Linked DNA regions of Homo sapiens: regions 1 and 2 are each linked to region 3. Evidence: promoter capture Hi-C in 16 types of primary human blood cells and fetal thymus (Javierre and others, 2016). All regions are on one chromosome and are shown on one strand. The core of a region is centred on a gene start or on the middle of the fragment in contact, and the rest is flanking DNA. Distances in the headings are between cores, read along the strand shown.

Region 1 (2,730 bases), core at 150-2,649, 2.3 Mb after region 3:
GACTGATGAATGCCCCCAAGTCCCTCCACAGAGGCGGCGGGGAGAGAACCAGATCTTAAAAAATTTTTCACTCTAGGCCTGGAGGCCGGGTGCTGCGGCCACCCGTGCCTCGACGTGTTCCTCCGCACGGGCTCTAGGAATGTAAATACCACGAGTTGAGACAGGTCTGGGCCCCGGACAGAGCGGTCCGTGGTTTTAGCAATTCATTTTAATTCCGAAGCGGTCCAGTGCATTTGCTTTCACTTGGTTGCGCGGGGCTGGAATTGATAAGAGAGAAAACCATGTACTTGTCCTTGTGGGTTGGGAAACAGGGTCACTGAATCCTGGGCTGGCTCTCACAGCTTCCTGGCAGAGTTCACACACGCACTCAGAGGCTGCGCCAGCCCTGTACCGCAGGACTGCGGGCGCTCCCTTGCCGGCACTCCTCCTTCGGTTCAGAAACCAAAGTGGAAACGCATGGATCAAGTTGCAGGGAAGTCTGACATCTGGGACAGATGTTGCTCCTCTGCCCGTGGCGGTTCCTCAGATAAATCCTCATTGCTTTATTTTAATTTGCCTTTGAATTTCGTTATTTTTGCCTCAATGCAACACATAGTCTTTTTTTTTTCTGCTTTATTTAACTCTCACGGTCCTCTGCGCTATTTTTATCAATGGTATAACTTTATTTTGGGAAAGGGATTATTTCCCCCTCAGAAATGGGGGGAAATAATCAAATCTCCAGTCAATTATGTCTTGAAATTTAACTCTGCTTTTACTGGTCCATCATAAAACATTTAAACCGTTAAAAACATGTCCCTCACTGATCAACTTTAGTTGTTTTGTGTTTTAAAACATGGAAATACAACCCCTGTGTGTGTATGTCACATTACGGACAGACCATATTAATCTCTTTCTCACAGAAAAAACATCTGCGTGTGTGAGTCTAAGTAATTATTCATCTAGGGTAACAAATTCTAGAAGGCTTGACCTACCTTCCTTCCTCCCTTCCTTCCTCCCTTCCTTCCTTCTTTCCTTCCTTCCTTCCTTTTTCTTTTCCTTTCTCTTTTTCTTTTTTTGTGCTTCTTTGTATCTAATACCCAGGGGCATTAACAACATCTCCTCTGCCTCGTCTTCCCGTGTGTAGAGGGACCCGTCTCACGTCCAACAATAGATACCCCTTTTATTATATATTTTTCCTTTTGTTTTTCTTGACCAACAATTTCCCTTCAGTTATTTATTTTAGCTGGGTAACCCCAAGCTATATGCTCCGTGTAAACCAGAATGGTGTGGTCGGTTTTGTGACAGGTAGTGGCTTCCTGAGCTGGCTCTGATGCGCACCTCTGAGGCGAGCCAAGGCGGAAACTGTCATTCCTAGAGGAAAGCGATGCCCGTCTGGGAAGAATCTGGGAAACCCCAGCATTCCTATGAGCTGCGGCCCACTAAGCGCCCCTGACCGCAGTGATCACTGTCTCCTAGATTTTTTGACAATGTTGTTTTGCTTTGTTTTAAAATATTATCGTTACTGCTGAGAAACGTGGACTCTTATGATGAAGACCTGCCGGGCCTTCCCCAGCCATTTCACTCCCTGGCCTCCTCCAAGATGGCTTTCATTTAGGGAGGGTCAGACTCATCTAGGTGACATTTCCCCGAGCCTTTCAGTCAAGTTGGTCTACAAATTCACCAAATTAGTGCTTGGTCTACATCTAGGGCTTCCTGCACGGAAAGGCCAATAGAAAAGTCCACGACTTGACTTTTACGCCACATCACTACAGCCACAAAACGGGGACCTCCTCGGGACTGGAGGCGGATCCTCCACGGGTCCCCGGCCAGGCCCATCCTCCTCGCAGCGCGCCTGGTGCGGCCGTACCAATTCCGCGCCGTGCAGCCTGGAGTTACAGGCCCCGACCGAGCCAAGATCTGAGGCTGCCGGGCCCTCCCTGTTTACTGGGGGCTCTGCTACCGGAAGTCATTTGACAAATCTCAGGCAGGCCTTTCTAATCTTTACTGCTCGGCAGAGCTTTGCAAATCTCTAAACACGCTGTAACCTTCTTCAAACAGCACGCCAGACACACTTGAAGGTTTTTTTTTTTTTTTTGAGGCCGGACGGAATGGAAACTGCATCTGCACGGGATCTCTCCACAGTCTGGCCCGCAACACTGCCAGCACCTTCCCTAGACCCTCGCCTCCCCGCTTCCCCCGCACGCGGATTCTCGCGCATCCGTGCGCCCACTCAGCCCCGGGAGCCCTCCTGCCCCGGGAAGCCTCAGACGGTCTTGGGCTGGAGACTCACCCTGCGCCCCTGCAGCGGGCTGCGGGGAGAGAACCTTGGGGAACCAGGCAGGACCGGCAAGGGTGGACCGAGTGATTTATGACCCTGATCAAACTTTTTAGGAAGCAGAAATTAACCTGAGGGAGATTAGGCCTGAGCTTTGAAGTTCACGGTTTTGTTTTCCTTCAGCCCAGTTCTGCCATCAGATGGTTCTTGGTTCCTTCTACCCCTCTCCTCCTCCCCCTCCTTCGGTCTCTCGTCACCCCACTTTATCCTCCAGCAACCCCTCCTGCGTTGATTTTCTTAATTTCAAATACAAATATCTGAACACCAGAAACTGAAGTTCCTGACAGTGACCTATTGAACAGAGGCATCGCATACTCCCTACATCCCAGTCTTCTTGGAATTGCGTTTTACGTTTGAAAGTGCGATTTTGGTTTGGAGGTCGGGAGTAGAAAATTTGTATCTGTTCTTTTCTTTTG
Region 2 (3,045 bases), core at 102-2,601, 2.2 Mb after region 3:
GGTGGCTGACGCCTGTAATCCCAGCATTTTGGGAGTCCAAGGCCGGCAGATCACTTGAGGTCGGGTGTTCGAGATCAGCCTGACCAACATGGAGAAACCCCATCTCTACTAAAAATACGAAATTAGCTGGGTGTGGTGACGCACCTGTAATCTCAGCTACTTGAGAGCCTGGAGCAGGAGAATCACTTGAACCCGGGAGACGGAGGTTGTGGTGAGCCGAGATTGTGCCATTGCACTCCAGCCTGGGCAATAAGAGTGAAACTCTGTCTCAAAAAAAAAAAAAAAAAAAAAAAAAAATTGTTAGTGCCTCACACCTGGTAAATCATCATTAAAGTTACCTAGTACTATTATAATTGTTATTAGGAACCTTTCCACCAATATTGATTGAGCACTTACTAAATGCTGGGCATTTTCCTCATGTCGCCACTTTATGGATAAAATTGAGGTATGATAAGGGAACTGGAGCTTCCCTGTCACACTACAAGGGGCGGGGCAGAGGGTCAGAGCCAGGTCTGGTTCCAAGGCTTGTGTTCCTTGGTGTTTAATCTGTTAGGAGGGTAGGACTGAGTCACTAACCCTCCCTCTGGCGCCAATAGCCACTCCTGCCCTTCCTCTTCCTTTCTGAACAAGAACTGACTGGTTCAAACGAACTACAAGGTTTCAGACTTCAGATTCATTCTCTGTCTCTCTTTCTCTTTCCTTCTGTGTCTTTCTGTTGGTGGAGAGGCTGGAGATAAAAGGACAATGAAGTTTAGTAGCAGCTGTGTACCCAGTTTTCTGTGGTGTGTGAATTCTCTCAGTTTCTTCTTGTCGGTTTTCCAAAAGCTGAATAGTTCTTTTAAAAGAAAACCACTCTGTGACCAAATGAAGGAAGGGGAGCTCTTGCCAGAGGACAAAACAGGAAGAGATTATCTTGAAAAGCTTCTAATCAAAGTTAAAAATCATCTTATGTCTCTACTTGAAGGTTCAGTTGCACATACGCCTTGCCTGGAGGTGGGAGGTGCGTGGATAACTGGAGACATTATTAAAGAGGCTCATGAGAAGAGGATGGAGGTGCTGTTTTCACTTAATACATTTGGGAGGGGATTTGTGTCCTTCAGATACGTCTTGGGCTGGACCTGGGTTCATCTTCATTGGTAGAAATGGCACCCTTAATTAGGGCTCCATTAGAATTGTTTTCCCAACTCTGCTGCATGCTGTCAAAAAGATATGCTCCGTCTCCTCAGTGATGAATGAGGCTGACCCCCTGCTGCAGCATAGAGACAGAACTGGTATCTGCGGATTAGGTCTTGCTGTGTGCTTCATTTCTTAAGCTGCACTTTCAGTTGGCTACTGTTTTCCTATGAGTCAACATTTATATTGAAGTTATTACCATGAGCTGAAGTGCTATAGAAAATACGCCTTCAGATTTTTCAGTCTTCCTAAGCTGTGAGAGAGTGTGTGTGTTAGAGAAGAGGAAAGGCAACCAATGCAGCTTTTGAAAGGCCGTCAGAGAACTGGTTTGTTAGGGTGTTGAGATGTATCTGGGGATTAGACAAAAGGAAGAGGATGGTTAAGTGATTAAGCAAGACCAGCCTGGGCTGTTAAGTCATTTGATGTTAACAGTTGATGGATCAGGATTTATCTGTACCCCGTGAAAACGGAAAATTGAATTCAGTTTTTCTTTTTAGCTTTGAAGTAGTGGATTTCAAACGATTTTAGACATTTTATAATGGATTATGGATAATTTACCTTGAAAAACTGTACTTCACCAGGAAAAACAGGAAAGAATAGGAAGCTTATTCTCTCATATCTTTTCTTCCTTGATTCGCTCATATCTTTTCTTCCTCCCCAAGCTAAATCATTAGGTTTGTTTTTCTGTTTCTGAAACAGAATTTGTTGAAACTAAATTGTCGTACAATGCCTAGAACATTGGTCACATTGGCTTCAATTCTAGTCTCCATGAGGGCAGGTCCATTTGTGCATAATTTGTTGCTATAGCCCAACACCCAGCACTGTGCATGGCATATGGTGGCCATTCCGTAAATCACTGAATGAGTGAATGAGTTTGTGGGTTCTAATCTGTGTGTGTGTGCCTGTGTGTATCTTGACTATGAGAGTTAACATAATTTCAATTTCATTTCACTAATGTTGGCTCCTCTAATGTTTAATGTGAAGTTGAGATAACTATGTCCTTCCATATACCTGCTTTCCAAGTTTTTCTCTTGTGGGATTGAATTAAAGCCTACATTTATCTTCCATCATTTCTTTTTAGGTTGATCCTGGTTTGGGAAGCTTCCAGCTTGGAATGATTACAATAGAAAGAAGCTGTTCTCCTGATTCTTCCTGATGCTGACACACCTTCTCTTTTTAAAAACAATAGCATGGCACCTTTGATTACTGTTATAAAGTCCAGAGGTCTTCAGACTGGGGCACACCCACCCAGGGGGGTATATAAAGACTTTGTAAGGGGCACTTGGGCATCGAAGTGTTGGGTTATGTGTCCTCAACTTTCCTATCGTCGAGTTCCTAAAACAGACTTGCATAAGAACCTCTGGGCTGGGAGTTATTTACCCTCTCCTACATCTCTTCCTTTCTATCATCCTTTTGCTACTCTACAAAGGAAAGGCACCACCCTCCCCCATCCCAAATCTTACTAAAGTATATTGCCTGGGTGTAGAAACCTTTATGATAGCAAAGGGACAATTTCATTTCATAATACATATTTATTAAATACCTAATATATACCAGGCACAGTTCTGGATGATGAGTTACTGCAGTGAACATAACAGTAAAACATTTCTGTCCTCATGGGGCTTCCATTTTATCAGGAAGAGATGGGCAAGAAGCAAAAAAGATATTATCCATGCTGCTTCTTTCAATTAAGGCCCTAAAATTTTCCCATTAACCTGATGAAGAAATACATTTCCGAAAAATTTTCCTGGTTATGTTTAGTAATTATCAAAACTTACAAAGTTACATTATTTTGATCAGTTGTATACTAGTAATAATTATAATGAAGACTCAATCTAGCAAAATTAATACTTGGAAAATCATGGCAATGGG
Region 3 (2,877 bases), core at 190-2,689:
CATGCATCTGCACCAGAGGGTAAGTGAAATTTGCCCTAAGGAAAAATGCTAAATTCAGTATGCATATATTAATATTAATAAAAAAAATGTACTGTTGGGTCATAAACTGCTGATAATGTGTAATATTTCTTAGACACCTGGAAAAGTGCTACTGGAAAATACACACTTTACAGAAGAAATATGACTGCAACTGGAGGAGGGGGTGGGGACAAGAAAGTAATTGATTCTCAGCAAAATGCTGGTTTTCAGGGAAGCTACTAAATTCACCTTAAGTGGTTACCTGGTCAACATTATGCTTTAAATGCTCACAGGATGAAATCGCTTCCTTTTTAAATGAAGAGTCACTATGTCCCTTGCCGTTGTTTCCGCTCCTTCTAGCCTTAACCAATGCACTGTCCTTTCTGCAGTGGCTGAAACGAGGATGGGTTAATTACCAGACCTGAGATGGTGGAGTGGGTGCAGTAGGGTGCTGTAATTTCGGGTGATGAAATTATTTTAGTTTTTGTTTTCCTAGAAGGAGCAGGGAGTATAAAAAACGTGGCACATATGTAAAACACAGGCAAATGCACTTGACAACCAAGCACTCTATTTTGAAATTTAAATAAAGCTAAGATTTTTTTCTGGCCTAGAGGGAAAGCTTCATTAAAATCAATTAGTTAGTACAAACCTCCGGAGAATGTGTACTTTTTCTAAAGAAGGTTTAAAGAAGAAGGTGCACACAATTACCTTTCCTGGGTCCCCTGTGAATGTGTCACACCTAGACAGGTGGCTGAGTACAAAAAAATGTCCCTGAGAGGGACCAGGGTAACTCCCTGAGTTCTCCTCGCAGGGAGGTAGGTGTAATTAATCGATGTGGGTGTATTAAGAACGTCATATACATAACCAAGGAGGCTCCAAACAGATGGCACGGATGGCAAGCCGTAAAGGGCAGGCCTAGCGAGATAAAGTTGGTGGCAGGGCTCGCAGGTGAGGCCTGGGTCCGCGCGCTGAGGTTGGGGCCGCACAGCTGTAGCCGCGCGCCCTGGTCCCTCCTCCCAGCTGCGGCGGCCTTCCCCCCCCGCCCCCGCCCCCGCCCTCCCCCCGCCGCTCCCGACGCCGCCGCCGCAGCCGCCGCCTCCCCTCTGCCTCCCGGTGGCTCCTCGCTCTCCTTCCATCTCTCTCGCCCCCTCTCCCTCCGTCCCGTCCTCGCCGCTCCCCTCACCCCGCCTCTCTCCCCCTCCCCCAGCCCCTCCTCTCCTCACCCCACCCGGCCTCCCTCCCTCCCTCGCCCGCCCGGCGCTCGCAGAGCCGACACCAGGGGGGCTCTCGATGTAGCACCATGACAGGCATCGCCGCCGCCTCCTTCTTCTCCAATACCTGCCGATTCGGGGGCTGCGGACTCCACTTCCCCACCCTGGCCGACCTCATCGAGCACATCGAGGACAACCACATCGGTAAATGGCCCGGGGGTGGGCGGGGGTGCCAGGCGCGCGGAAACTCCTGCCCGGGCGGGGAGCCCCGGAATGGCCAGGGGTGGCCGGCGGGGAGGGAGGCGGCAGGGCGGGGAGGGCGCGTGCGAGCCCCGAGGTGGGGGTGGCGGGATGCGGGGGCGCGAGGTGCCGGGGGGCGGGGAGCGGGCTCGGGTGGGGGAGGGGGCGGGCGCCCCGAGGTGCCGCGGGCGGGCGGGCGGGCGGCTGGGGGACTCAGGGGCGTGCACGCGGGCTGCGAAGTGGTGGGAGCGGGGAGCGCCGCGGCGGGGCGGCGGGGTTGCGGCGGCGGGGCCGAGTGCCGGCGCGCGGGGCGCGGGGCGGAGGGCGCGGCGGGCGGCGGGAGCTGGGCGCTGGGCAGGGTCGCGGAGTTAGTTGGCCCGGGTGGTCGGAGTAGCCCGAGGCGCTGAGGGCAGCGGGGGGCGGGCGCTGCACGCCGCCGGGCGCTTCCGCCCCGGCTCGAGCTGTCAGGGCTCGGCGGCGGCTGCAGCCGCGGGGAGGTGGAGCGGGGGGGCGGGGGTGGCTCCACCGCGGCAGCCATTCCGCTTCCTCCTCCCGCCGCCGCCGCCGCCACTGCGTCCTGTCAGCGCCGGTTGCTAGGTGTGGTGCGTCGGGAGGGGGCCGGGGCCGGCGGCCGCGGGCGGGGGCCGGGGAGCTTGCCCTCTCCCTGGGAGGCGGCCGAGGGGCCCGGGCGGGGCCGGGGACGCGGGCCCGGGGGCTCTGGGTGCCCTCCCCTGCCCCGGCCTGGCGCGGACGCCCGGGCGCTGCGGGCTGAGGTCTTGGGTGCGCCCGCGGGCCGCGCCCAGCGCCCCGGGGTCGACGCGCCCTGGAGGCCCCTGCGGCGGCGCCCGCTGGAGAGACACCCCCAGGGCCCATGGCCGGGCATTTAAATGCACCCCGGCTCTGCGATTTGCCTTTCTAATGGTGCTAGGCCCGAGGTGCGCTGGCTGCGCCCTGGGATCGGCGGCGGCCTGCGCAGCGCCCCGGGCCCGGGAGACGCCGGGGAGGGGGCGCCCCGCAGGGTGGCTGCTTTCCCTTCACGCCTGGACCCCTGGACCTTTCAACAAGTCCTCTGATTTGCAGAAGTCATTGCACACATTTTCACACTTCTATTCGGAACCCCTGCTAAGGGAGGTGGGCCGGGTGCATCTGGCTTAGGCGGTCCAACCACCTGCGGAAGGTGTGACCGACGCCAGCGAGTTGTCCTGCGTGGGCTAGAAGGTGAAGGGTCCGAGCGATGTCCCAATGGGGCTGTCTAATCCAGAGAACCTGTAAATTGCCCCCAGGAAGTCCAAATGAATGCCATGGATTCAGCCATGTGGATGCAGCTCACGTTTCTACAAAGTTGAGAGAATAAATCACGACTGCTGTGTATTTATGCAGGAATAAAATGAGGCAGAACCCTATGCTC

What was found. Contacts are between HindIII fragments. The CHiCAGO score rates a contact against its expected background, and 5 or more counts as called.
Region 1: a fragment that was not itself captured here is called in contact with the fragment with the promoter of JAZF1-AS1 in region 3 in 2 of 17 cell types (activated CD4 T cells and fetal thymus); the score reaches 7.7 in activated CD4 T cells.
Region 2: a fragment that was not itself captured here is called in contact with the fragment with the promoter of JAZF1-AS1 in region 3 in 1 of 17 cell types (activated CD4 T cells); the score reaches 5.4 in activated CD4 T cells.

Annotation. Positions count from the first base shown.
Region 1 is chr7:25,858,181-25,860,910 of GRCh38, reverse strand. No RefSeq gene overlaps it. Among named protein-coding and RNA genes, the nearest start is that of LINC03007, 69 kb to the right of the region's middle. The HindIII fragment of the contact is 9,868 bases long and covers 1-2,730 here.
Region 2 is chr7:25,938,671-25,941,715 of GRCh38, reverse strand. LOC105375199 (a long non-coding RNA gene) reads left to right here. Exons shown (of 7, transcript XR_927114.3): 7 at 2,255-2,454. It overlaps LOC105375200 (a long non-coding RNA gene), which reads right to left and starts at 184. Exons shown (of 4, transcript XR_001745151.2): 1 at 145-184. The HindIII fragment of the contact is 856 bases long and covers 924-1,779 here.
Region 3 is chr7:28,179,019-28,181,895 of GRCh38, reverse strand. It overlaps JAZF1-AS1 (JAZF1 antisense RNA 1), which reads right to left and starts at 1,439. Exons shown (of 4, transcript NR_034097.1): 1 at 1,357-1,439. It overlaps JAZF1 (JAZF zinc finger 1), which reads left to right and starts at 1,101. Exons shown (of 5, transcript NM_175061.4): 1 at 1,101-1,433. The coding sequence starts at 1,319. RefSeq lists a silencer at 1,907-2,026 and enhancers at 1,881-2,380, 2,381-2,877. The HindIII fragment of the contact is 6,606 bases long and covers 640-2,877 here.